Regions from separate parts of the Homo sapiens genome. Here regions 1, 2, 3, 4, 5 and 7 are each linked to region 6. Evidence: promoter capture Hi-C in 16 types of primary human blood cells and fetal thymus (Javierre and others, 2016). All regions are on one chromosome and are shown on one strand. The core of a region is centred on a gene start or on the middle of the fragment in contact, and the rest is flanking DNA. Distances in the headings are between cores, read along the strand shown. Region 1 overlaps LOC101928002 (a long non-coding RNA gene). Region 2 overlaps FRS2 (fibroblast growth factor receptor substrate 2). Region 3 holds the start of LYZ (lysozyme). Region 4 overlaps CPSF6 (cleavage and polyadenylation specific factor 6). Region 5 holds the start of FRS2 (fibroblast growth factor receptor substrate 2). Region 6 holds the start of RAB21 (RAB21, member RAS oncogene family). Region 7 has its middle 14 kb from the start of ATXN7L3B.

What was found. The method cuts DNA at HindIII sites, captures the fragments that hold promoters and counts their contacts. A CHiCAGO score of 5 or more calls a contact.
Region 1: a fragment that was not itself captured here is called in contact with the fragment with the promoter of RAB21 in region 6 in 1 of 17 cell types (total CD4 T cells); the score reaches 5.1 in total CD4 T cells.
Region 2: a fragment that was not itself captured here is called in contact with the fragment with the promoter of RAB21 in region 6 in 1 of 17 cell types (non-activated CD4 T cells); the score reaches 7.7 in non-activated CD4 T cells.
Region 3: the fragment with the promoter of LYZ here is called in contact with the fragment with the promoter of RAB21 in region 6 in 2 of 17 cell types (neutrophils and monocytes); the score reaches 9.9 in neutrophils.
Region 4: a fragment that was not itself captured here is called in contact with the fragment with the promoter of RAB21 in region 6 in 1 of 17 cell types (total CD4 T cells); the score reaches 5.4 in total CD4 T cells.
Region 5: the fragment with the promoter of FRS2 here is called in contact with the fragment with the promoter of RAB21 in region 6 in 4 of 17 cell types (non-activated CD4 T cells, total CD8 T cells, activated CD4 T cells and 1 more); the score reaches 6.6 in non-activated CD4 T cells.
Region 7: a fragment that was not itself captured here is called in contact with the fragment with the promoter of RAB21 in region 6 in 1 of 17 cell types (total CD8 T cells); the score reaches 5.2 in total CD8 T cells.

The regions. Positions count from the first base shown.
Region 1 is chr12:69,725,432-69,729,134 of GRCh38, forward strand. All of the region lies in intron 2 of LOC101928002 (a long non-coding RNA gene), which reads right to left. Among named protein-coding and RNA genes, the nearest start is that of RAB3IP, 12 kb to the right of the region's middle. The HindIII fragment of the contact is 185 bases long and covers 1,754-1,938 here.
Region 2 is chr12:69,578,082-69,581,755 of GRCh38, forward strand. FRS2 (fibroblast growth factor receptor substrate 2) reads left to right here. Exons shown (of 9, transcript NM_001278356.2): 9 at 1-1,712. Among named protein-coding and RNA genes, the nearest start is that of MIR3913-2, 4.8 kb to the right of the region's middle. The HindIII fragment of the contact is 812 bases long and covers 1,267-2,078 here.
Region 3 is chr12:69,345,959-69,349,709 of GRCh38, forward strand. LYZ (lysozyme) reads left to right here and starts at 2,423. Exons shown (of 4, transcript NM_000239.3): 1 at 2,423-2,586. The coding sequence starts at 2,451. The HindIII fragment of the contact is 11,988 bases long and covers 1-3,751 here.
Region 4 is chr12:69,240,523-69,243,937 of GRCh38, forward strand. The region is part of intron 1 of CPSF6 (cleavage and polyadenylation specific factor 6); the gene reads left to right. Among named protein-coding and RNA genes, the nearest start is that of CPSF6, 2.7 kb to the left of the region's middle. RefSeq lists enhancers at 1-363, 3,267-3,415. The HindIII fragment of the contact is 823 bases long and covers 1,007-1,829 here.
Region 5 is chr12:69,469,012-69,472,395 of GRCh38, forward strand. It overlaps FRS2 (fibroblast growth factor receptor substrate 2), which reads left to right and starts at 1,377. Exons shown (of 9, transcript NM_001278356.2): 1 at 1,377-1,519. RefSeq lists enhancers at 1,048-1,549, 1,721-1,770. The HindIII fragment of the contact is 4,260 bases long and covers 1-2,151 here.
Region 6 is chr12:71,753,172-71,756,787 of GRCh38, forward strand. It overlaps RAB21 (RAB21, member RAS oncogene family), which reads left to right and starts at 1,692. Exons shown (of 7, transcript NM_014999.4): 1 at 1,692-2,117. The coding sequence starts at 1,959. RefSeq lists enhancers at 1,464-1,753, 2,394-2,583 and a silencer at 1,734-2,013. The HindIII fragment of the contact is 5,965 bases long and covers 1-3,616 here.
Region 7 is chr12:74,549,597-74,553,209 of GRCh38, forward strand. No RefSeq gene overlaps it. Among named protein-coding and RNA genes, the nearest start is that of ATXN7L3B, 14 kb to the left of the region's middle. The HindIII fragment of the contact is 1,818 bases long and covers 379-2,196 here.

The sequences.
Region 1 (3,703 bases), core at 596-3,095, 2.0 Mb before region 6:
GGGGTTTGTGTTTTTATCCTTTTGTATCCAGAATGATTTTCAAAGATAGAAAAGTGAAAATACAAATATACCCACTCATGTTCATGCCAGAAGTCTTCTCTAACTCTTTAGAATAGTAATGTTCACATTTTAGGAATAATTAGAAATCTATAAGCATGTGGCCTGATTTCTCTCCTAATCAACTCTGTTAATAAAAATGCATATATAGCCTACCAAAACTAGGTATGACTCATATCTCTTGGCTAGATGTTACTCAAAGCCTAATAATTGGGCTGGGAGTGGTGGCTCGGGTCTGTAATCCTAGCACTTTGGGAGGCTGAGGTGGGCAGATGACCTGAGGTCAGGAGTTTGAGACCAGCCTAGTCCAACATGGTGAAACCCGGTCTCTACTAAAAATACAAAATATTAGCTGGGCGTGGTGGCAGGTGTCTGTAATCCCAGCTACTCAGGAGGCTGAGGCATGAGAATTGCTTGAACCTAGGAGGCAGAGGTTGCAGTGAGCTGAGATTGCACTACTGCACTCCAGCCTGGGTGACAGAGCGAGACTCCATCTCAAAAAAAAAAAAAAAAAAAAAAAAAAGCCTCATAATTGCAATACGCTGGAAATTTCAGGACCCCAAGAGACAGACCAATTAGGAGTATGTGCTGTTCATTTACTTCTTATAAAATATCAGGCTAAGCAATATTCAGGTATTTCTAACACTGTTTCCAACTCTTTGCCTCAAGGTCAGGTTCTACAATTACCTGAATCATCTGGGCCCTAAGTTGGCATTGCTAGCATTGAATTGGGGACAGATGCCCATTTCTTGTGGCCAAAAGTGCCTGCTTGTCTGGCAAGAATAATTTCACACAGGGATGATGTCAGAGTATTTTTGGTCCTGAAAGATACTTACTTACCTGATTCAGAAACTTGTTAATTAATTTTGATTATGTCAATGATAATCCAGTTATACATGTGACTAAACAATTCTTGAACCGTCTAGACTGTATTCAGGTAGCATATAGCTGAATTTCTACTCCAAATTTTTGTTTCTGATAGTATGATTGCTATCAGTCTGGATTTCAGTAGTTTCATGGAAGAATAAAATTTAGGATAATTTTGTGATTCATATACCACTACTCAAATTCTAATTAAATTTTGTCTTTTTTGATAGCATGTTTCCCTTTCAGGTCTGTGAAATTAAATTCCTCTTGCAATCAAGCTGCACAGATAGGGGAGACACTTGGTAATTCAAACACATCTTGGGGTTTGCACACCAAAAGCAGCTGCAGAAACTTAAAGTATGATTCATGTTCATCAGAATATGTCTTCTAAAATTCGGACTTTATTTCTACCAAAATAGTACAGCAACTCCTCAAAATCTGTAATTCCATTAAGCTCAAGGCGGTTGACCTGAGCTCAACTCATATGCCTGGTTTATGCCTGAGATTTTTACTTTCTGAAACAAAAGCCCTTCCTTTCCCCTGTGATTTCAAGTTCAGTATATTCAGATGTTTCATCAGAACAAGAAAGCACAATCTCTTGGGCCCCTGAATGTTGAATAAGTTGGGCCAGTGAGAGCTCTTTAATTCCCCAAAGTTCTTGACCTCAAAACATCTCTTTAACAAGTACCCATAACCTACACTTCTGACTGCATTCAAATAAACCCAGACTGCATACGCTGTTTTGTCTTTGCCCAAACTGATGACGGTTAGGAGTACAGGCATGAAGAATGTTGACAACCATGATAATTTCTATTCTTAGACCAGGAAAAGCTTTCTTGCAAAGCTCAAATGAAAAACACACCCGATGAATGATGCAAGGAGCATCAGACCACTTTAACGCTTAAATTAGTATTAAAGCATTTCTCTCCTCTTTCACTGTAGATACCCCACATACAATAAACATCCATGTTTAGACCAAACTTCTCAAATTCCTTTTTGAGATAGTCTTTGCAAAGCTTCTGTGTTCTACCTAACCAGGATCAGTTAGATCACATACTGGATACTGCTGCTTTGGAGCATTCCATTCCATATATTTTGCACATGGGATGTACATCTTAAATTTAAAATAAAAAATATTTTTACATTGTTTCTTAAGTAAGTGTGTGTCATAATGGTTTTCAAACTTTTTTTTTTCCAAGCTGGAAGTTCAATATGCAAATGAAACAAAAGAGAAGCTAGCTGTAGTTAAAAGGAGTTGAGAGAAAAGACAAATATATAGACAGAAAACAGATCAGTGGTTGCCTAGAACTGGGTTAAGAGTAAAATTATTGCAAATGGACATGAAGGATCTTTTGGGGATAATGGAAATGTTCTTAAACTGGAATGTAGTGTGGTTGCACAACTCTAAACATTTGCTAACAATTATTGATTCATATACTTATAATGAGTGAATTTTATGGTATGTAAATTATACCTTAATAAAGTTAATAAAGAAACTAAATATAAAATAATGCAGGATGGCAAGAAGTTGTTGGAGATATAGATGAAGCAGATTGGTACTTCATTGATAATTGTTAAAATTGGAAATGAGTGTGTACAATCTTATTTCACTCTTTTTCTTCATTTGTGCTCATTTAAATTTAAAAAAAAGAGCTGAATTTAAAAAATAAAAAATAATAAAGGGGGCTGAGAATAAAGGAGCATTTCCCTTGTCCATTAGAGACAAAATTTTTAGGCCTATCTGAAGCACCTTTAGATACTTAATCAATGTTTGTGACTAGTCTATGGTACATGAAAAGAAAATGTATTATTCTCGCTCACATATTTATATAAACTTATAAATATATAAATGTACATATACAATCTACCTTGCTAATTATGTTATTTAGGCCTTCTATATCCTACTTAATTTTTGACAACTTGATCTGTTCTGGATGAGATAAATTAACTAGTCATGTTTTCTGTGGATTTCTCTTTGAATTTGATGTAGTTTTCCTTTATAAATTTCAATTTTATGTTATTTGGTACATTGATATTCATAAGCATGAAATCTTAATTTTGCATCTCATGTTTTATAAAGTGCCTATCTTTGTCTTATTTAATACTTTTTTCTTGAATTTAACTTGGAGATAAAATCTTGATCTTGGTTTTAATTTGCTTGGTATGCCTTCACCTATCTTTTTATTTTCCACCTTTCTAAATCATTTTGTTTTCACTGTATCTTATGTATATAGCACAAGGTTGAGATTTGCCCTGATATCCCAGTTGAGAAAATTAATTGAAAATTTTCAGTGCTCATTGAAAAGAAGGTCATGTCATCTTTTATCTTACTTTACCTATCTTTTGTTTTTTTGTTAGGTTTTGTTTGTAGTGCTCATTTATTTTTCACTATATGGCCTGTATATATATTCTTTGTGTATGCATGTGTTTTGAACTTGAAAGGTTTGCATTTTTGTTCCAGTGGTCATCTTAATAACTTTGAAACTACTTTTTATATATTATTGAAAGCATTGAACAGTGTATTTCCTGTTCCTCACCTCTTTACCCTCTAATTATATTATTTTTGTTATGTTTACCTTATTTCTTTTCTCTTTCAGCTTTTGTTGGTTGTTTCATTGTGATATTGTCAAGACTTACAACGGTTACTCTCTGTTCTATGACCATAATTCTCAACGTTATTTTAGACTTACTTCTATAGATAATGGATTTAATGATTGCTACCAGTCTCCTCTCACTGCCCATATTTCTAAATTCGTCTCTTTGGTGGTTGAAATTCATT
Region 2 (3,674 bases), core at 423-2,922, 2.2 Mb before region 6:
CAACAATGTGCCGCCATATTTTTGCCTCAAGGTAAAGGTTTTAACAGATGAAAAAGTACTTCCCAATTCCCCCGTGCTATTCCTAACCTATAATGCCCAAATGTTTTGTGCAATGTGTAGTGTGTGTGTATAAATACATATATTCTTGAAATAGACATACCATCAGAGACATCATTCACAAGTAACTGATGTATTGGCATCTCATTCATATTTCTGATGTGTGAGGTATATGGTACTAATTACCTTTTCCTTGATGTTTGCCAAATTTGAATAAAGGCATTGGTACGAAATTACAGAATGTAAAGAAAATGTTTTTGGCTTGAAAAATTAACATATTTTATGACGTACCACAGTATACTCTGCCCAAACCAGCACCCTATCTATCTTTCCTGTTCTTTACATCCCTGTTCCCCATCCCTACTTCCTCATTTTTGGTATAACACAGTTCTTTTGTAGCATCATTATAATTGCAGTTCTATGGCAATTGGACAGTTATAGCATGGAAACAGACTGGTATAAGTAGTACAGTAGTCACCAGTGTGCCACATTTGCATTAGTAATGCAAAATATACATTTTATAAAGGACAAACTTTGTGTTATGTTTTATTTTCATTACATTGTATAATATTGTAAGACTATTGTATGTCCTAATTTGCATTATAAATGTTTTTTTCCTACGTAAAGGCATAAATATAGCAACTTTGTATAAAGGTAGCTTATTAGATTTTTAATTTTTTCTTTTATAAAAAATTGTCCAACAGTGGGACTACCATTGCCAAATTGTATATGAAATATGAATTTTACCCCCATGGTTAATTTCTTTTATAAACATTCCATATTTCTCTAATAAAAAGACATAAGTGATACTGTACTATGCATACATTGTATCTTAATGCTGTTTCAGATCAGCATTTTAAATTTTGGTTTGCATTTTTAATATTGGCAAAACGTAACCACTGTTAATTAAAATAAAACCTTGTTGTATATGTAACAACATAATTTTCCCTCTATCCCTTCCCACCCTTTGTTCTCTATTTCTCCCTATCAGTGCCAACTTCATACATTTTGTAGCATGGCAATAAAATATAACTTTTACACTGAGGCCGAGTGTGGCTTTTTGGAGGAAGTGGGGATGGGACGATTGCCCTCTAGTTGTCCTTTGCATATGACTGTTTTTTGCCATATAAGCCATGTCATCAGGCATGAAAAGTTTTCTCATATATGATGTAAACTTGCTTTTAAGGACAAGTGTGAATGTGCTTTTTAAGCTTAATTTTTGTCATGACAACTAATTTTTTTTATCTTTGGAGAAGTCAGAGTTCTTTACAATCAAACGTTTATTAACTGGAGTACTTAGAATAAGCTAGTAATTGAATTTAGTTCAAGGGCTAAGCAACACATTTTTAAATCCTTATTTATTGTAGAGTATTAGTATACTGTCCTACAAATTATGTAAAATATGGTTTAATATTAGATGACTTTGGATTTTGCAATGCCTTACTGTTGTCATTCTAGCATAAATATCCATAATGAGGTACTCAAGTTGATACTGGAAGCTGAGCTGATCATACACTGACCTGAAGCATTCATGAAAAGCTGCTTTATTGAATAAAGTCTGATTGGAGTTCTTTTCATGCTCACTTTCCCCTTATTGCTGAAAGTAGATTGCAATAAAACCCCAATAAAACGTTTGGTCGGATATCTACTTAAAAGTTTTATTGTATTTATATTTCACATACTACTTGAAACTTTGTGACATTTTCTTTCCTAGTCTCATATCACTGCCTCCATTTTCAAAATGAAGATATCAAAATGAAATTGTAACTATATGACAGGCTTTCTCACAGTTTTAGCTGTGTGATCATTCCAAATAGTAGTTCTCAGCTCTGGGACTTCAAACCTGTTTTTAGCCACTGAGTGACATTGCAAAGCCTTAGTTGAGTACAGGTCAAGATGGAAATTATTTAAACAATGAAGGAGATGGACATGTCCACAAGTGATTGATGTAACTGGCATGATAAAGACACACACAAAGGAAGGGCATCCAACTCAGCCTAGGGGTGGAGGTTTTCAAGCAAAGCTTCTTAGAGGGGGTGATCCCTGAGGTGGTTTGTTGAAAGTCTTTGTAGCTTAGAGAGGATGTCTTAGGGAGAAGGGATAGCATGTGCAAAGGCACAGAGGTATAGAAAGATCATGACATTCAGTGGTTGCAAGAGGTTCCAAATGACTAAGCGCATGGAGAGCAAAGGCAGGGTTGGGGGATACAGAAGAAAGGAGAAATGAGAAACAGATCACAGAATCCTAAGGAGCTTTTGTTTAAATTAGGTGAGAGAACTTGAAGGATTTTAAACACCAGAAAAATAATAGTTTAGAAAGATTTCTCTGACAACATGGATACGTGAAGGGCGCAGTATTTTTTTTTTTTTTTTTTTTTTTTTTTTTGAGACGGAGTCTCTCCCTGTTGCCCAGGCTGGATGGAGTGCAGTGGCGCCATCTCGGCTCACTGCAAGCTCCCCCTCCCAGGTTCATGCCATTCTCCTGGCTCTGCCTCCCAAGTAGCTGGCCCTACGGTATTTTAATAAAGCAGGGAGACTGGTTGAGAGGCTTTTTCAGAAATGGAGCCAGATCTGATAAATCCGTATTCAAAGGCATTGTTAAAGGACTGTTTAGATTGTTTACTGCTGTGCAACAAACCACCCTAAAAGTTAGTGGCTTAAAGCAGCAATCATTTAATGTCTCAAGTTGCTATAGATCGAGATGGGCAGGGCACAGCAGAGATGGCTCATCTCACATGATGTCTGGAGGCCTGGCTTCCTCATATGCTTTGTGCCTATGCTAGTATGATTCAAGCAGCTGAGGGCTGGCTGGACCAGTTCCACTAGGTTATGTCTGGAACTTAAAGCTCTCAGCTGTGTTCCTTAGTTTTCTTCCATGAAGTCTTGGGTCTTTCTTCATGTGGTCTTCTTACATGGCAGCTTAGGGTTCCCAAGAGCACAAAAGTAGATGCTGCTAGGCTTTCTTGAGGCCTAAGCCCAGAACTGGCACAATGTCAATTCTGTTGTATTTTGTTGAATTACAGTGGCTCATATAAAAGCATGAACATCAAAAGTGTAGTTTATTCAGGGCCACCAATGTAATAGAGGGCCTAAAGGAGGAAGAATTAACACCTCTGATTGATAAGGGGAATGACAGAAATGGAGGGGTCAAGGATGACCCCCAGTTATCTGGTTTGGGTGACTGAGATGGTTGATGGTGTCAGTTCATTGAGATTTAAGATATATTTGGGGGCTGGGCATGGTGGCTCATGCCCGTAATCCCAGCACTTTGGGAGGCTGTGGAGGGTGGATCACTTCAGCCCAGAAGTTTGAGACCAGCCTGGGCAACATGGTGAAAACCTGTTTCTATGAAAAAATACAAAAATCAACTGGCGTGGTGGTGTGTGCTTGTAGTCCCAGCTACTCAAGAGACTGAGGCAGGAGGATAGATTAAGCCTGGGAGGTTGAGGCTGCAATGAACTGTGATCCTGCCACTGTGGTCCAGCCTGGGCAACATAATGAGACCCTGTTTTTTTTTTTTTTAAAGTGCTCCTCTAAGTGTGCTCCACAGACTGATTCCTGTGTACAAACTATCACGGTCTGCAACAGGAGAAATATCAAGTCTTCTAACCTTCTCCC
Region 3 (3,751 bases), core at 1,173-3,672, 2.4 Mb before region 6:
ACTATTTAAACATTTGAAAACAAAAATTAATCTTATCAGCATAAGGCTGAAACCAGCATATGTAATAACTGGCTGTTCTTTAGTATTGAGTTGGGAACGGCATAAAGGGGACCAAAGACTAACTCTTTTTTTCCTTCTTTCTTTCTTTTTTTTATTTTTGAGACACAGTCTCACTCTAGTTGCCCAGGCTGCAGTGCAGTGGTACGATCTCAGCTAACTGCAGCCTCAACCTCCTGGGTTCAGGTGATCCTCTGACCCTCAACCTCCCGAGTAGCTGGGACTACAAGCACATTTTTAAATTTTTTTTTATTTTTAGTAAATATAGGGTTTTGCCATGTTGCCCAGGCTGGTCTCCAACTCCTGGTCTCAAGCAGTCCTCCTGCCTCGGCCTCCCATAGTGCTGGAAATACAGGCATGAGCCACTGCGCCCAGCCAAGACTAACTCTTTTAATTGGTTTCTGTCTCTTTGGGTCCTGAAAATCTGTCTCACTATTTATTATTATTATTATTATTATTATTATTTGAGACAGAGTCTCACTCTCTTTCCCAGGCTGGAGTGCAATGGCACAATCTCGGCTCACTGCAACCTCCGCCTCCTCGGTTCAAGCGATTCTCCTGCCTCAGCATCCCAGGTAGCTGGGATTATAGGCACCCACCACCACACCCAACTAATTTTTCTATTTTTCGTAGAGACGGGGTTTCACCATGCTGGCCAGGCTGGTCTCGAACTCCTGACCTCAGGTGATCAGCCTGCCTTGGGCTTTCAAAGTGCTGGGATTACAGGCATGAGCCACCGCAGCTGGCCATTTTTTTTTTCTTTCTTTTTTTTTTTTTTTTTTTTGAGACAGAGTCTCACTCTGTTGCCCAGGCTGGAGTGCAGTGGTGTGATCTCAGTTCACCACAACCTCCGCCTCCCGGGTTCAAGTAATTCTCCTGCCTCAGCCTCCCAAGTAGCTGGAATTATAGGCGCACCACCACGCCCAGCTAATTTTGTATTTTTAGTAGAGACGGAGTTTCACCATGTTGGCCAGGCTGGTCTTGAACGCCTGACCTCAGGTGATCCACCCACCTCAGCCTCCCAAAGTGCTGGGATTACAGGCATGAGCCACTGCACCTGGCCCTATTTATTATTGAAGAATCAAAATTAGGCCTAGCCTGAAAAATGAGATTATTCTTGATTTTTGAACAGGGTCCTTGAACTGTCATTTAAAACCAAATCTGGTAATCTTTAGAGGCCACTGATGAAAAATAAGGGTAACTACAAAGTGATGACACTTTGTGTGGCTCAGAATCTGTCCTCTTAGGCAGATACAGAAGTGCAGTTCTTTTTGAGTTCTGGTAGCATTGTTTTAAAAGCTGTGCACAGCCTCCTGAGATTGCTATTTTCAAAGGTAGCATTTAGTTGGATATATGTTTGGGTAGGTTTTATTTTTAAAATGCTGTTGCTTTCTAATGACCCCTTATGTTCTAATATGGAAAGGGGAGGCAAAGTATTGTGAAAAGTAGTTGGTAAAGTAGGCCGGATGTGGTGGCTCACACCTGTAATCCCAGCACTTTGGAAGGCCGAGGCGGGCGGATCACGAGGTCAAGAGATCCAGACCATCCTGGCCACATGGTGAAACCCTGTCTCTACTAAAAATACAAAAATTAGCTGGGCATGGTGGTACATGCCTGTAGTCCCAGCTACCTGGGAGGCTGAGGCAGGAGAATTGCTTGAACCCGGGAGGCAGAGGTTGCAATGAACTGAGATTGCGCCACTGCACTCCAGCCTGGTGACAGAGTAAGACTCCATCTCAAAAAAAAAAAAAAAAAGGTAGTTGGTAAAGTTGTTCACATGAACCTTATTTATAATAGTAAAACACTGATTTATAATAATAAAAAATTTGCTATAGTAACAAAAAGAGTCTAGAGTAAGAAACTAGCTGAGCAACGTGGTGTCACACTATACACCCATTAAGACAACAGGCACATGTGTCATGTCCATTTTGTGGAAAAGATATGTAAAATAATTTTAAGTAAAAAAGATAAATATAAAAAAGTGAATGCATACAAAACAATTTCACAAAATTGAATGTTACTCAAAAATCACAGCTCATTTTAAGCTGCACAAAATAGTCATTTTTTTCTTTATAATTGCTCAAATTCATAATCAAACAGAAGAAAGTTCCTGTCTTGGAAGTAGTGCTATGCCCCAATTCTTCCAGAGCCAGTACTTTAAACAATTCCATTTCATTATTTTCCTGTAGACTAATTCTTAGGACATCAGCATATCTCTCTTCAAGCATTAAAAAAATCTCTTTAGAGTCAGTGGATCAATAGACAGTTCCTGTTTTCCACACAACTGAAAGGGTGGAGCCCCCAAACCACAAGGGGAAGAAGGAAGTTAAAAGATGTTAAATACTGGGGCCAGCTCACCCTGGTCAGCCTAGCACTCTGACCTAGCAGTCAACATGAAGGCTCTCATTGTTCTGGGGCTTGTCCTCCTTTCTGTTACGGTCCAGGGCAAGGTCTTTGAAAGGTGTGAGTTGGCCAGAACTCTGAAAAGATTGGGAATGGATGGCTACAGGGGAATCAGCCTAGCAAACTGTAAGTCTACTCTCCATAATTCCAGAGAATTAGCTACGTATGGAACAGACACTAGGAGAGAAGGAAGAAGAAGAAGGGGCTTTGAGTGAATAGATGTTTTATTTCTTTGTGGGTTTGTATACTTACAATGGCTAAAAACATCAGTTTGGTTCTTTATAACCAGAGATACCCGATAAAGGAATACGGGCATGGCAGGGGAAAATTCCATTCTAAGTAAAACAGGACCTGTTGTACTGTTCTAGTGCTAGGAAGTTTGCTGGGTGCCTGAGATTCAATGGCACATGTAAGCTGACTGAAAGATACATTTGAGGACCTGGCAGAGCTCTCTCAAGTCCTTGGTATGTGACTCCAGTTATTTCCCATTTTGAACTTGGGCTCTGAGAGCCTAGAGTGATGCAGTATTTTTCTTGTCTTCAAGTCCCCTGCCGTGATGTGGGATTTTTATTTTTATTTTTATTTTATTTTATTTTATTTTTAAAGACAGTCTCACTGTGTGGCCCAGGCTGGAGTGCAGTGGCATGATCTCAGCTCACTGCAACCTCTGCCTTCTGGGCTCAAGTGATTCTCGTGCTTCAGCCTTCTGAGTAGCTGTGACTACAGGTGTGTACCACCACACCCAGCTAATTTTTTGTATTTTCAGTACAGATGGGGTTTCACCATGTTGGCCAAGCTGGTCTTGAACTCCTGGCCTCAAATGATCTGCCCACCTCAGCCTCCCAAAGTGGTAGGATTACAGGTGTGAACCACTGCACCCAGCCGACATGGGATTTTTAACAGTGATGTTTTTAAAGAATATATTGAATTCCCTACACAAGAGCAGTAGGAACCTAGTTCCCTTCAGTCACTCTTTGTATAGGATCCCAGAAACTCAGCATGAAATGTTTTATTATTTTTATCTACTCTACTTGATTAACTATCTTTCATTTTCTCCCACACAATTCAAGATGTGCCATGAGGAAAAGTTATTTTATAGTTTAGTACATAGTTGTCGATGTAATAATCTCTGTAGTTTTCAGATTGAATTCAGACATTTCCCCTCAATAGCTATTTTTGAATGAATGAGTGAAGGGATGAAATCACGGAATAGTCTTGTTTTCAAGATTCTAACTTGATATCCAAATTCACCTTTAGATATTATAAGAAAATTTCTATCAGAAAATCCTTA
Region 4 (3,415 bases), core at 168-2,667, 2.5 Mb before region 6:
AATTGGAAGCGCGATGGTTGGATGGAACAAAAAGATGTTAGCTCACCCACAGATCTCATAGTGATTAAAATGAAAGAACGTTCACCCCAAATCCTTATGATGTGGTTTAAAAATAAAGAGTTATAGATAAGACCCTATTTTCGAAAACAAAGTGTTAAATCCCCCCACCCCCACCCCCGGGCCCCGTGTTACCTTTTGAAAGGTTGAGCGAAAGTGAGAATGCAAGGTTTTCCTGAACGACGTTGCTTAGAGGTAACGCGGGGCTGTGATGTCTGTTAATGGGCATCCTTGCAAAAGATGTCGTTTGTTGCTAGTGACGTTTAAGGTTTGAACCTGCTGTTCGTATCTACTGCATTTTATGTAGTAACACATTTAAAACAATTAAATTGTGCTTAACTGCAATGTTCCTAAAAGCCTTATTTTTTTGTATTTCCCAGGTCCCTATGAGAAGTTTAATGAAATATTACTGGCTAATGTGGTTTTCCCACCTCCATTAACCATCATATTCGTGACTAGTTGCTCAGGCTTTTTAAAAAACAAGGAAACTCAAGAGATCTTTACTGTTTTATTTTTCAGGAATGACTTTGTGCCTCTGGTTTAAATATTAGAAAACAGAAAAATACCAGTTGGCTTTAAATGTTTGCTATTCAGTTAAAGACTGGATTTGTTTAAATGTAATACATTGTAATCAAAGGTTAAGTTTTTAAATCTTTGTGTTTTTAAAATTGTGCTTATGTTTTAAATAATAATACTTGAGTTGTGTCCATTACAAATCAGATACATTCCTCGAGTGCAACACAGGTTCTAACGCTTATAAGACCTCTAGGAAATTTTTTTCCTTTTATTTATCAAATGAATATAACTGCGTTTAAAAGAGGGCTGTAACTGCAAGGAACAACGATTGAGTGTTCAAGACTGCCTTTATTAGCTTTACTTACAAGATAATACATTGGTTCACCTTTCTATGCACAATAAAAGAAGAATTGGGTCTCAATTTTAGAAGTTAAGCTTTTTTCAGTACCTCTTAATGAAATATTTTTAGGCTTTTGCATACTTAATTTGAGAGGGACATCTCCCTTATCCGGATAGCTGGGTGGATTCTTATCCCTGTGCAGTAGCAAGTGCTGACTGGGCAGGAGGTAAAAAGAGATTAGTTTTGTGGACCCAATGAGGAACTCCTTTTAAATGTAAGTTTTCAATGATTTGTATAAGGTACCTACTGCATTACGTCTAACACAGTTGTATAATTTTACCAGTAAAATCTTTATATGTTTGAATAGATTAATGGCGAGGATAAATAGAGGCATTGTTTTTGCTACTTTGCATATCATTGGCCAATCAATGATTGATTGATTTGTATATCCTTTTACATTACCGCTTCTTGCTGTGGTAGTTTCTGTACCAAAAAAAAAAAAAAGGTCACAAAAGGATAGTTGGTTATTTTCAGAGCTTATCTTGTTTTTAAAAATATGTTACTGTCATTGAAATATTTTTCCAAAATCTTACCAGAATTAGAGGCAACCACAAAATAATTTACAACTGATTTAATCTTTACTAGCTGGCGACCTTATTTCTACTAGTTGCTATAGTAGACTAGAACTCTTGTTTTATTGTCGTTGAGTAAAATACTAAATAGTAGCCAGTTTTGACTTACTTTGGCTTCAAAGCTGTTGTAAACATTAAAAAAAAAATCTTTGTTTTCCAGTGTAAACTGCAGTTCTCATTGGATTTGTATACTTTGAAATTCGGGATAGTCTTTATTTCCATTTTCTACTATTTTTTGTCTGTATCCTGCTGAGTCTTCTATTTTAAATGTCATACTTTTATGAAGCTTTTTTGTATTTTGGTAAGGCACAGTATTATTTCAAAAAGTGATTTGCATCTATTGAAGTAGAAAAAAGTGAGGCATTCAACAGTCTTAGCAGAAACTAATTTGGGGATAGATTGAGAATAATAAATTAGTGAAGCTCTAATAGAGTGCCTTTCTTCACCAGGTGAACTTAAGAATGGAGAATGAAGGGGGGAGGAGGCACAAGGGACTGGCTACTCCTTATGGGTTCTCTTTAGTTCTTAGAGGTCTTTGGATGTCACCAAGCTGAGAACAGCTGGAAGGGGAATTTGAACATCTTCCAAACCTCTCTATTACTTGAAGTTGAGAAGAAAGTGATTCTGTCTCACAGTAGCATATCAATTCAGTTTAAACTGCATTTATACTCAAGTGTAGTAATTACTAGCCCAATATTTAGTAATTGTAGATTTTAAAATTCTGGCCAAAACTAAATAATTTAAAAGTTGAATTGTTTAGCGCGAGTGTGGTGGCTCATGCCTGTAATCCCAGCACTTTGGGAGGCCAAGGTGGGCAGATCGCTTGAGGTCAGGAGTTGCAGACCAGCCTGGCCAACATGGTGAAACCCCATCTCTATCAAAATACAAAAATTGGCCGAGTATGGTGGTGCCTGCCTGTAATCCCAGCTAATCAGTAAGCTAAGCAGGAGAATCGCTTGAACCTGGGAGGCAGAGGTTGCAGTGAGCCAAGATCGGGCCACTGCACTCCAGCAAGACCCTGTCTCAAAAAAAAAAGATTGAATTGTTCAAAATACATTTGTTGAGTGTCTGTTATGTGCCAACAACGAGGGATACAAAGTTTAGGTAGTCTCTACCCTTAGAGTACACTGTAGGGGAGCTGAGAGATACCTACATACAGTAGTGCACACGTATCCACAGTTCCACTTTCTGTGGTTTCAGTTACCCGTGGTTCTGAGGTCTGAAAATATTACATACAATAAGGTAGTTTGAGAGATACTATATTTAGCTAACTTTTATGACAGTAAACTGTTCTACAATCATGTGTCGCTTCACGATGGCGGTATGTTCTGAGAAGTCCATCTTAGGTGCTTTTGTCATTTGTGATCATAGAGTGCTTTTGCATTTCAAACCTGGAAGGTACAGCCTACTACACATGTAGGCTATATGGTGTAGCCTGTTGCTCCTAGGCTACAAACTTGTACAACATATTACTGTACTGAATACTGTAGGCAGTTGTAACACAGTGGTATTTGTGTATCTAATATATCTAAACAGAAAAGGTAAGTGAAAATCTTGATATAAAAGATAAAAAGTGGCACACTTGTGTAGGGCACTCATGAAAGGAACCTGCATGATTGGAAGTTGCTCTGGGAGAGTCAGCAAGTGAGTGGTGGGTGAATGTGAAGATCTGGGACATGCTGCTGTAGACTTCATAAACACTGTACAGTACACTCAGGCTACACTAAATTTATTTAAACTTTTTTCTTCAATAATACATGAGCTTACTGTAATGTTTTCACTTGATTGATTATTTTCTCACTGTCATCCAGTCTGGAGTGCGGTGGTGCAGTTGTGGCTCACTGCAGCCTTTATCTCCCAGGCTCAAGCA
Region 5 (3,384 bases), core at 127-2,626, 2.3 Mb before region 6:
AGATATCTGGTGCCTTTCTGATTTTGTGGCTGAGGAATCCCACGCCCTCCTCCTTTCCATCCCTTTTCCCTGTCTGGTATGTAACTCTGTGGGTCCTCATATTATCACTGCATGGAGCTTCACAAGCACCTGTATTTTTCCAGTTGTAAAAACCCCTACTCTTTCTTTTTTTTTTTTTTTTTTTTTTTGAGACGGAGTCTCGCTCTGTCGCCCAGGCCGGACTGCGGACTGCAGTGGCGCAATCTCGGCTCACTGCAAGCTCCGCTTCCCGGGTTCACGCCATTCTCCTGCCTCAGCCTCCCGAGTAGCTGGGACTACAGGCGCCCGCCACCGCGCCCGGCTAATTTTTTGTATTTTTAGTAGAGACGGGGTTTCACCTTGTTAGCCAGGATGGTCTCGATCTCCTGACCTCATGATCCACCCGCCTCGGCCTCCCAAAGTGCTGGGATTACAGGCGTGAGCCACCGCGCCCGGCCAACCCCTACTCTTTCTTATTTCCTTAACTAATCTTTTCTATTGCCTATTGCTGATGAGGTATAAGAATCGTTAACTTTTATCCAATGCCAGACATTCTGAAATGTTTATCATGCATTATCATTTTGGATTCCTACAATGCAGAGATGATTTTATAACTTGCCAGGGTGAAAAAATAAAAGTAAATAAAAGGAGACAAGCAAAAAGATTCCAGATCCCCACCCCAACCCCCCCAACCCCCCAACCCCAGCTCTCGCCTCTGTTGAAGTCACCAGTGATGACAGAATATAGGAATATAGTTTGAGCCCTGTTTTTAAATAATTTCAAAATCTTGGTATAGGTAGATGAGATTTATACACACGTGAATTAAAATCAACCAACATTTGTGAGATTGGGTTTGGTATCTTTGACCGTTTTTCTCCCCTGCAAGACGTAGATAATAGCACCAACCCCAAGGAGTTTGGGGATGATTAAATAAGTTAATGCACCCGAAGGGACTTAATACAGTGCCTACCACGTAGTAAGCGTTCAATAAATGTTAACTATTATCATTATTTTTTAAAGGAGGCAGATTGGAGCGTAGAGTACACTGAAGGGAGTCGGGAGGCCGGGTGTAGGCACTGGATTCTTGCACCTAATTCTCCGAGCCTCGGTTTCCTTATTTGTAAAATTAGCTGGCTGGAGTAAAACAACTCAAACAGCAGTTAAAGCAAAGGGTGCAGCAGTAGCCGGGGAATCGAGGAGGCGCGGGGCGGAAAGGGTTAGTTAGGAGCCCAGAGGCTGATCTGTGGGCGCCCGGCGAGAGAGGCCCCGCCCCGCCCTGGAGGCCCTGGCAGCTCCGGGCTGAGAGCAGTTCCGGTGCCAAAACCCTTCCCTCCCCCGCTCCCCCGGAAGTGCTTTTCCAAGATTCGGGCCGGAGAGAGGCCTTGTAGGCACAGCGGCTGAGACTCGATCTGCTCCAAGTAGGGGCTCCAGCGCGGGTCGGAGTCTGGGGGTTCGCGCCCGCCGACCCGCGCCCTGCTCCCTCTCAGCACCTGGGCGGACGGTGAGTGGCTAGGGAAACGGACTGGGACGGCCGCGGGCCCGCGTCGGAGCTGGCGTTCTCGTGCCCCCGCTGCCCGCTTCGGGATCCGGGCTGAGGGCTCGGCTGCCGGCGTCCGGGGAAGGGGATTGTCGACCGCCGCGGACTTCTCCGGGCCAGCGGGACGGGAAGAGCTGGCTGTGGGTCCATGGGGTGGGCGGGGCGGAGCCAGGGAGGGGGTTCCCAGAGCTGTTGTTGCTGTTGGGACTCGAGAGTGGGGATGGGCTGGGCCTCTGTTCGTCCGTCCGACCCCCCTCATGTGTGCTGCCCCAAACCTCGCCGCTCCCTAGTTTGGTATTCTGTGTCCGGCCTGGGGTAGTAGCTGGACACCAGACTCAATCTTGGGCTCCAGTTCCCGACTTTTCGCCTCCTCTGGGTCTGTCCTGGGGTCAGTAATTAACCCGGGTCCCAGGGGTGTCGTCTTTTCCCTCCAGGGTGGGGCGCTGCCTGTACATGCCAGGGATCTTTTGCAGGGCTTTTCATCCAGATTTGCTTCAGGGTTGTCCGGGATCGATTTGGACTGGGCTCGGAACCGGTCCTGGATACGTAGGTCGCTGTGGCACCAGCATGCTCTGTATCATCTTTACTCACTTGAAAGCTTGCTGAAGCTGTTGTTGAAGTAAACTTAAAGAAAAAACTTGCTTAAGGAAAATCAGTAGTTTAGACACCCCCTCCCCCGCCTTTTTTTGCAGACATACTAAAAAAAAAAAGATGCTTTTCTCTAATCTACACTCTTAATTCTTTTGGCTATCTGATGTCACAGTTGTATGATGAGTTCATTCAGAGGCTGTACGAATTGATTTTAAAGAGTTGGACAGTTATATCCTTTCTCCCAAAGTTTGTTTACCTTCATATTTGGAACTGTCATTTTTCTTAAGGAAAAATTGTTCTTGGATTTTCTTGAGAGATTCCTTACACTGTTAAAATTGTTGCTGCAATGCAGAGTTTCACACAGGTGGGCAGAGATGTTTTGTTTAAACTTATTCCATGAAGTGTTTACTTCGGATAAACTGAGGATTTCCTAGGGGAGAAAGTGATGTAGGTAGGTTTAGTGAACAGATTTTAGGTAGTAAACTTTACTGCTGAAAGGTTTGTAGGAAATATGGGTTTTCCACAATAAATGGTGATTTAAAAACTTTTTATAAGGGAATGCAGTTACTGCAGATTATTGCTATTAGCAGATGGCCACTGTTTTTGCAGCGTAAAGTATTCACAAATCACCTTCTTGAAACCAGTGACGCTATCTGCAACTCTCATCTTGTGTGTAGATTAGGGTTTATTCTGTAGTTTTTTGGGTACTTATGTCATTCTCTTTCCTCCCACCCCTGAAAGGGGAGGTGGTATCATGAATCAGGAAAAATAGACTGAAGTGACAAGTTCAGTGAGCTTTTCCTATGCAAAGGAAAATTTATTTCAAGGTTGTTGATTTTGAACAGGCAAAGGGTAGATGATTTTTAAAGTCCTTGGAAAAAATTGTGGAGAGATTAGCTGCACAACTTTTCTTTTTCCTCTTCCTTTCTTTTCTTTTTTCTTTCTTTTCGAGACAGCCTCATTCTGCTGCCCAGGCTGCAGCACAGTGGCCCCATCATAGCTCACTGCAGCCTCCAACTCCTGGACTCAAGCAGTCCTTCTGTCTCAGACTCCTGAGTGGCTAGGACTATAGGCACCAACCACCACACCTGGCTAATTTTTTTTTTTTTTTTTTTTGTAGAGCCGAGGTTTCACTATGTTGCCCAGGCTGGTCTTGAACTCCTGGGCTCAAGTGATCCTCCCATCTCGGCCTTCCAAAGTGCTGGGATTACAGTTGTGAGCCACCATCCCCAGCATAT
Region 6 (3,616 bases), core at 442-2,941:
GCTTGCAAGATACTCTGAACTGTTTCATCAAGATGAAAGCATTTATTGTACAATTGAGTATGTCTGTCTTCCCTGATAAAATGTAAGCTCTGTGAGGACAGAGACATTTTATCTTGTTGATCACAGTGCCTGGCATATGGTGGGCACATTTAAATATTTGTTGAATGAATTAACCGACTCTCTTTTTTTTTTTTTTTTTTTTTGAGACGGAGTCTTCCTCTGTCGCCAGGCTAGAGTGCAGTGGCGCGATCTCGGCTCACTGCCACCTCTGCCTCCCGGGTTCAAGCGCTTCCCCTGCCTCAGTCTCCCGAGTAGCTGGGATTATAGGCTTGTGCCACCATGCCCAGCTAATTTTTTGTATTTTAGTAGAGATGGGGTTTCACCATGTTGGCCAGGATGGTCTCGATCTCCTGACCTTGTGATCCGCCCGCCTCGGCCTCCCAAAGTGCTGGGATTACAGGCATGAGCCACCACGCCCGGCCTCTTTTTTTTTTTTTAACCTGGTTTGAAGTGTGAAAGAAGTTTGATTTTTAAAAAAATGTTTACCTGACACCAGGTTTCCAGTAAATTTTCAGAAATATTAGTATGATTTCTTGGAGGAGTATGGTTTCTTGGAGGCAGGCCGGGCGTGGTGGCTCACACCTATAATCCCAGCACTTTGGGAGGCCGAGGCAGGTGGATCACTTGAGGTCAGAGTTCAAGACCAGCCTGGCCAACATGGTGAAACCCTGTCTCCACTAAAAATACAAAAAGTAGCGGGGCGCGGTGGTGGGCGCCTATGGTCCCAGCTTCTCGGGAGGCTGAGGCAGGAGAATCACTTGAACCAGGAGGCAGAGACTGCAGTGAGCTGAGATCACGCCACTGCACTCCAGTCTGGGCGACAGAGCGATACTCCATCTCAAAACTAACAATACAAACAAACAAAAAAGAATGGGGATGCAGATGAGAAAAAACAAGCAATCATCGAACAAGCCACCTCAAGGTGGAGTACCATGGAACGTCAGAGGCTTCATGAAAGTCAGAAAAACTGAAGAGCACTTGGGGTTAGGAATTCAAAGGTGGGCAGCTCTTATACAGACCTTGCCCTCAACAAACCTATAGTCTAATGAGAGTCGATAAACACTTAGCAAAGTATTAATAATATCCATGGAGTGTGTAAAGCCCTAGTAAAGGAGGTATACTGGTGGTAAGAAATACCTAATTTTGTGAGGTGGGGGAATGGAAGGATGGGGGAAGGATTGGGTGGTCAGGGACGCGGTTTAAGCTGAGACTTGAAAGATGATGGAGTAGTTGACCAGGCGGTCAGAGGAACTTGGAAGCGCTATGATTCGGGATCCCACAGAGAGAGATTCAAGGGCACCTTGGCAGATATGGTTTACAGTGACCTCTGGTGTGACAGATCATTAGCATTGTGAACATGCAAAAACGATGAAGTTCTGCCCTTCATTTCACCAGAGCTGGGCTCGCCTCAAATTCCTGGTTCCTTATTCCCGCTGGCTCCCACCAACTGAAAAGCAGAGGTGGCTCGCAAGCGGCGGGGCTCTGCCCTAGATTGCCAGTAGGCGCTCGACTCACATCCAGCTCCACCCCGGGAGATGCCCCAGAAGCCCCGCCCACGTCCAGGCACGTTCTTCTGGGGCTAGTCGCAGGGGCCGCCCCGGCACCGGCGCTCACGTGACCCGAGGTGTGACGTAGGAGGAAGGAGACGCCATTAGAGGGAGGCAGAGAGGGATCGTTCTTCGCTTTTCCTCCGGTGCCTGACGTGGTGGGCTGGGGCCCTTCATTCTCGGACTTTCCCTCAGCCCTTCCAGGCCTCGCCCGAGGAGGGCGTGGGGACAGCGCCCGGGTCGGCGGGGCCGGGGCGGTGGGGGCTGAGCCGGCCGTGGCTGTGAAGGCGCTGCCGCGGCTGTCGGGAGGGCGGCGCGACACTCGGGCTCGGGCGGCCGGGAAGCGACGGGATGGCTGCGGCCGGCGGCGGCGGCGGCGGGGCGGCGGCGGCGGGCCGAGCCTACTCGTTCAAGGTGGTGCTGCTGGGGGAAGGCTGCGTGGGGAAGACGTCGCTGGTGCTGCGCTACTGCGAGAACAAGTTTAACGACAAGCACATCACCACTCTGCAGGTGCGGACCTCGGGGAGCGGGAGGGGGCGCCTCAGGGCCCCTACCCCTCCGGGGCTGGGGAAACTTTGCCGCCCTGGTCCCCTGGATGTAGGCTGGCAAATCTCAGGCCTGTCATCTCCGCCTTCGGTTTACCTTTCCGAATTCGCCCTGGGGAATCACCAGGTCGGGGCAGCCTGTAGACGCGAGGACAGGCTGTTGGGAGGGAAGTGGAAGGGCCCTGAAAAGTCCCCAGTGTTCCCCGTGGTGGCTGCGCACGTTGTGGTCTCCGTCCGTGGGCTGTTTTTTCCCATTTACTGCAGTTCCTGGGTCCCAGGTGTCAGTGTTGCAGTCTCCAAATGTTAGCTCCTTTTCTTTCTTTCAGAATTAGGAACTTAGCTGCGTATTTGATTTTGCGAATTAGGTGATTTGTAACTTCAGCGCTTACTGATGACTAAGTGTTTATGCAAGTTCCATTTTGTCCTGAGTAACAGGAATGGCAAAAGAGCCATCTCTGGAGGTTTTTTGAAATGACCGCTTGCCTAGGCGTGTTACGCAGTTTCATTGCAGCCTGCGTGGGTCTGACTTGCGGGTCACTCATATTCTGCGAGGTCGATTGACCCACGCTGAAACATCAAGTGAATACTGGCCAACAATTGGTCCCCAGACTAAAAGCCGCTGCTGTTACTCAGTTTCTTTACCTGTAAAATAAAAGGTCGGCTTTCTTCCACAGGTACATTGGAAAGGTGTTAAAATGTTATCATTGATTGAGAGTGAAGCCAGGCCTTTGAGGGAGTTGTACTCACCCCACCTCTCCCAGAGAAATCAGTTTTGATGTTATTAGGAGAAATTTATCCTACTAATTTGACTTACCAATTTGGTCAAAGGCAGTAAAGTCTAGTGGACTTTTGAGCCTGATTGTCCAGGTTCATGTCTCACCTCCATCCATTTAACTAGCTGTGTCATACTGGGTAAGTTACTTAACCTGTCTGTGCCTGTTTCTTCTGTTAAAATGGCCATAATAGTAGTATCTAGCTCATAGGGTTGTCAGGATAAATATACAGAAAAAGCACTGATGACCTGGTCCAGTGTAAGTTGTCTGCCTTTAATTACCGCCCCAACTTGCACAATAGGTCTTAATTAGTAAATGTGTAGTATGTGAGAACATCGACACTACTTAATAGAATGCGTAATCTCCTAATTGTTGTGACATTGGATGTTTGATGCTATTATTAAACTACTGAGTCTAGAATTTACAAGACGCTCTGGCTCTGATTCCATGTTCTATTTTTACTCCTCTGATTTTACTCGTATGTAAAGCATATCTGAAAAAGTGAGTGCCAGGAAACTGCATTTTTAAAAAATCCTTGTACCAGAACACTGACAAAATTTTAATAATGAATTGTTATTGTTCAGTGTCATTAGTGAGAGCCTGGTGTTTTAGATCAAGAAAATTCACTGGACAAATACCTAGGATCATTTGGAAGTTTAGAGATTTACTTAGGTAAAGTAGTAACAATAGC
Region 7 (3,613 bases), core at 38-2,537, 2.8 Mb after region 6:
ATGAGATATAACTTTAAATCAAGTCCTGAGGTCCTCTCAGTTCAGAGTAAGGTTAGCTAATCTGCTTTTGCTCTTGCTGCTGTATGATTATTACAGTTCAAGGATTTACTTGCACTCTAGCCACTTTTGCAGTTTGAAGGTGGATTAGTGTTGCCCTCTTACTTAAGTACTTCTCTTATAGCTAAACTTGCTTTTTGAATTTAAACTGCTTGTGTTATTTCTGCTTGATATTGAATTCAACAATGATTCAAAAATTGATTTAGATTTTGTGTAATAGATTGGAAATAACAAGCTTAGTCTTGATTTTACAAGAAACTGTGTGACCTCAATCAGATAACTTCATCTCTTTGGGCCAAGATTTCTTATTGATAACAAATAAGCTTGAATAAAACAATGTCTTAATTCCATTCAACACTCTATGAGTCTATGAGCTAAAAAGTTGGACAATCACCGCCAAAACCATCATATTCCCAGGATTAGCTTACCATCTAAATACACGGACTTTATTATACATAGACTATAGGTTCCATTACATCAGTCTGTAATTCTGTTTTATATATTGTTCTAGGACTTTGCTTCAGACCTCTTATGACCTCTTTGATTAGAAATATATCTTTCTAAACCATGATGTTATCTTTGTTTCACATTTATGTATCCAAGGACAACCTAGATATCTCCAATTATAGGTATCACAGAAAACTCACATCTCATATTATGCAAAACTGAAGCCTGGTGAGCCTGTGCCCCAGTGAATTTTATTCATTCCAAATGTTGAGAACCGCTGTCATAGAGAGAAAGCAAAATGTAACTGTTAATCCTATCAGTCTCCTGTAGGACATTCCTAGGAGGTTAGAGACCTAGGACAATTGGTTTTCTCTTCTGGATGAGTTCCTATACATGTAAACTGTTTGACTTAAAAATGTATTACAAAATTAATAGAACATATGATAAATAGTGATTTATTGATAACAATAGATAGAGAAAAGCTACTTCATCTTTGTTTATTGCCCAATCAGTGCATGAGGATTTCATATTATTGAGGAAATATTTCATATTCCTGGACCTATTTGGTCCAGCAATGACATTGCTCTTTGGAATCTTGTTTATATTGAAATAATATAAATGTCTTGCCTCTGCAATTTCCTAATACCCTTGATTTAATGCTTATTACATTATTCATGATGTGGAATCATCTGCCATACAACTATGAACATTCTATTCCAATGGCTATCTCACAGTTTATTAATATGTTTTGTTGGTTATGATCACCAGTGTAAGTTTTACCCACGATATACAGTGAAATTTGCGCAATAATTAGATTTATGGATATATTAAATTTACCAAAAGGAAATTTGTATAGTGTAAATGTAGAACAACACATCTTCCAGTAGCATTGGAAGAGTCTCAAATTCTTCAGGCCATAGTCACTAAATTCCTAGAGTGTGATATTTTTCAATATTCACTAAATCATACCTACCACTCCAACCCACGAGTAGGGTGGATAGGTAAGGGGCCGTCAGTAGAGAGAGAGCAGCAGTCTTGTTCATACAAGGAGGATCCATCCCATGTACTGTAAGGCTGAAGATCATGCCAAGAGAACATAAGGCCACCACATAAATTGGAGGCAAAAGAGAACAACTATCAGAAGGGCCATTAGGATTATGGAGTTATAGTCTTAAAAGCCCCTGGAGAAGATATATGCAACTGTCCCTGGAGAACTGCCTGACATGCTGTACATAGAAGGAGTTTGGAGTAAGCAGCGGGGTTGCTAGCAAGAGGAGCAACAGTGGATGCCGCAAGGTAAAAACTACTGCTGCTACCCCTGCCATGTTCTGGTGGTAAACAAAAGAGACAGCCCTATAATTGGAACAGACACCAAGATGGACAAGAGCCAATATATAACTCTCACATACTTGGTTCAAGTCCAAGTGTTGGCATTGGACCAATGGTAGGCTAGAGCCCTGAACTTGCCATGCCCATGAGTGACTGTCACACGGAATCAGTATGACAGTAACTTTCTGGCTGCATAATCTTGTATAATCCAAATAAAACAAATAAATATAATTTAATTATATCTAATTATATTTAATTATATATATCCTACTCTGGATAGGAGGAACTGGGGCCAGACTACAATTACTAAGCTCCTTAAGACATACCCAATGTAGAGGGTTCTGATGGTTAATTTTATGTGTAAGCTTCACTAGGCGAAAGGATGTTCAGATAGCTAGTACAACATTATTTCTGGGTGGGTCTATGAGGGTGCGTCCTTCCTTAAGAGATTAGCATTTGAATTAGTAGACTAAGTAAAGAAGATCCACCCTTACCAATGTTGACAGGCATCATGCAATCTTTTGAGTGTCCAAATAGAACAGAAAGGTGGTAGAAAGGTGAATTTTGTCTTCTTGAGCTAGGATTCCTGCCCTCAGACAACCTGCCTTCAGATTCAATGTTGCTGCTTCTTGGGCCTTTGGACTCTGAAACTTACACCAATGGCTTCCTGATTCTCAGGCTTTATCCTTCAGTTTCCAGCCAGAAGTTATACCATCAACTCCCTTGATTTTCAGACCTTCAGACTTGGACTGAATTATATCATCAGCTTTCCTGGCTTTCTAGCTTGCAGAGAGCATATTGTGGAACTTCTTTGCCTCTATAATCATATGAGCACATTTCCATAATAAATCTCTTACATATCTATATGTATCCTATTAGTTCTTTTTATCTAGAAAACCCTGACTAATGCAAGGGTCAAAGATCATACTGCAAGGATCTGGTCCAGGATAGTACTGCCACCCTTGGCCACTCCTAGGTACTGGAGGGGGCTTAGAACATTTTGAAGAAAGCACCCTGATGCACCAGGAATGCCCTCAGATGTGGGCCTATAAGAAGGACCCACTTTTCCAGACTAAGCGTGGTTCTGAACCACCATATAAAAGTTGTTTCCTTCTGGTTCTATCTCCTAAATATTTACTTCATTCTTTTTCCATTCAACGACAGCTCTTCTATCATAAGCTGTATACTGTACACTTCAGGCAAAATAAATGTATGTGGCTTTTTGTTTGTTTGTTTTTAGTTCTCTAAATTTCATGACTTTGCTCATTTTGCCCTGACTTACGTTCTGTCCCTTAGCTTAGCTAACTCTTAAATATTTTTTAAGTTTCAGTAAACATAGAATGATTTTGGAAACTTTGTTAAAATTATATGTGTTTGGGTTTATTTCTGGACTTCTATTTCTATTCCCTGAGCCTATATGTCTATCCTTATGTCAGTATAACAATGTTTTGATTACTGTAGCTTTACAGTAAGATTTGAAATCAGGAAGTGAAAGTCTTTCTACATTGATTTTCTATTTCAATAATGTTTTGGCTATTTGGAGTCCCTAATTTGAAGAGATGTTTATCCATTTCAGCAAAAAAGGCCATTGGAATTTACAGGAATTATATTGAATCTGTATCTCACTTTATGGGGAAAGAATAGTTTCTTCCACAAATGGTGCTGCTACAACTGGATAACCACATACAAAGAATAAAGTTGGACCTCTAGATCACTCCATATGTAAACATTGCCTCAAAATGGATCAACAACCTACATGTAAGAGCTGAAACGATATAAC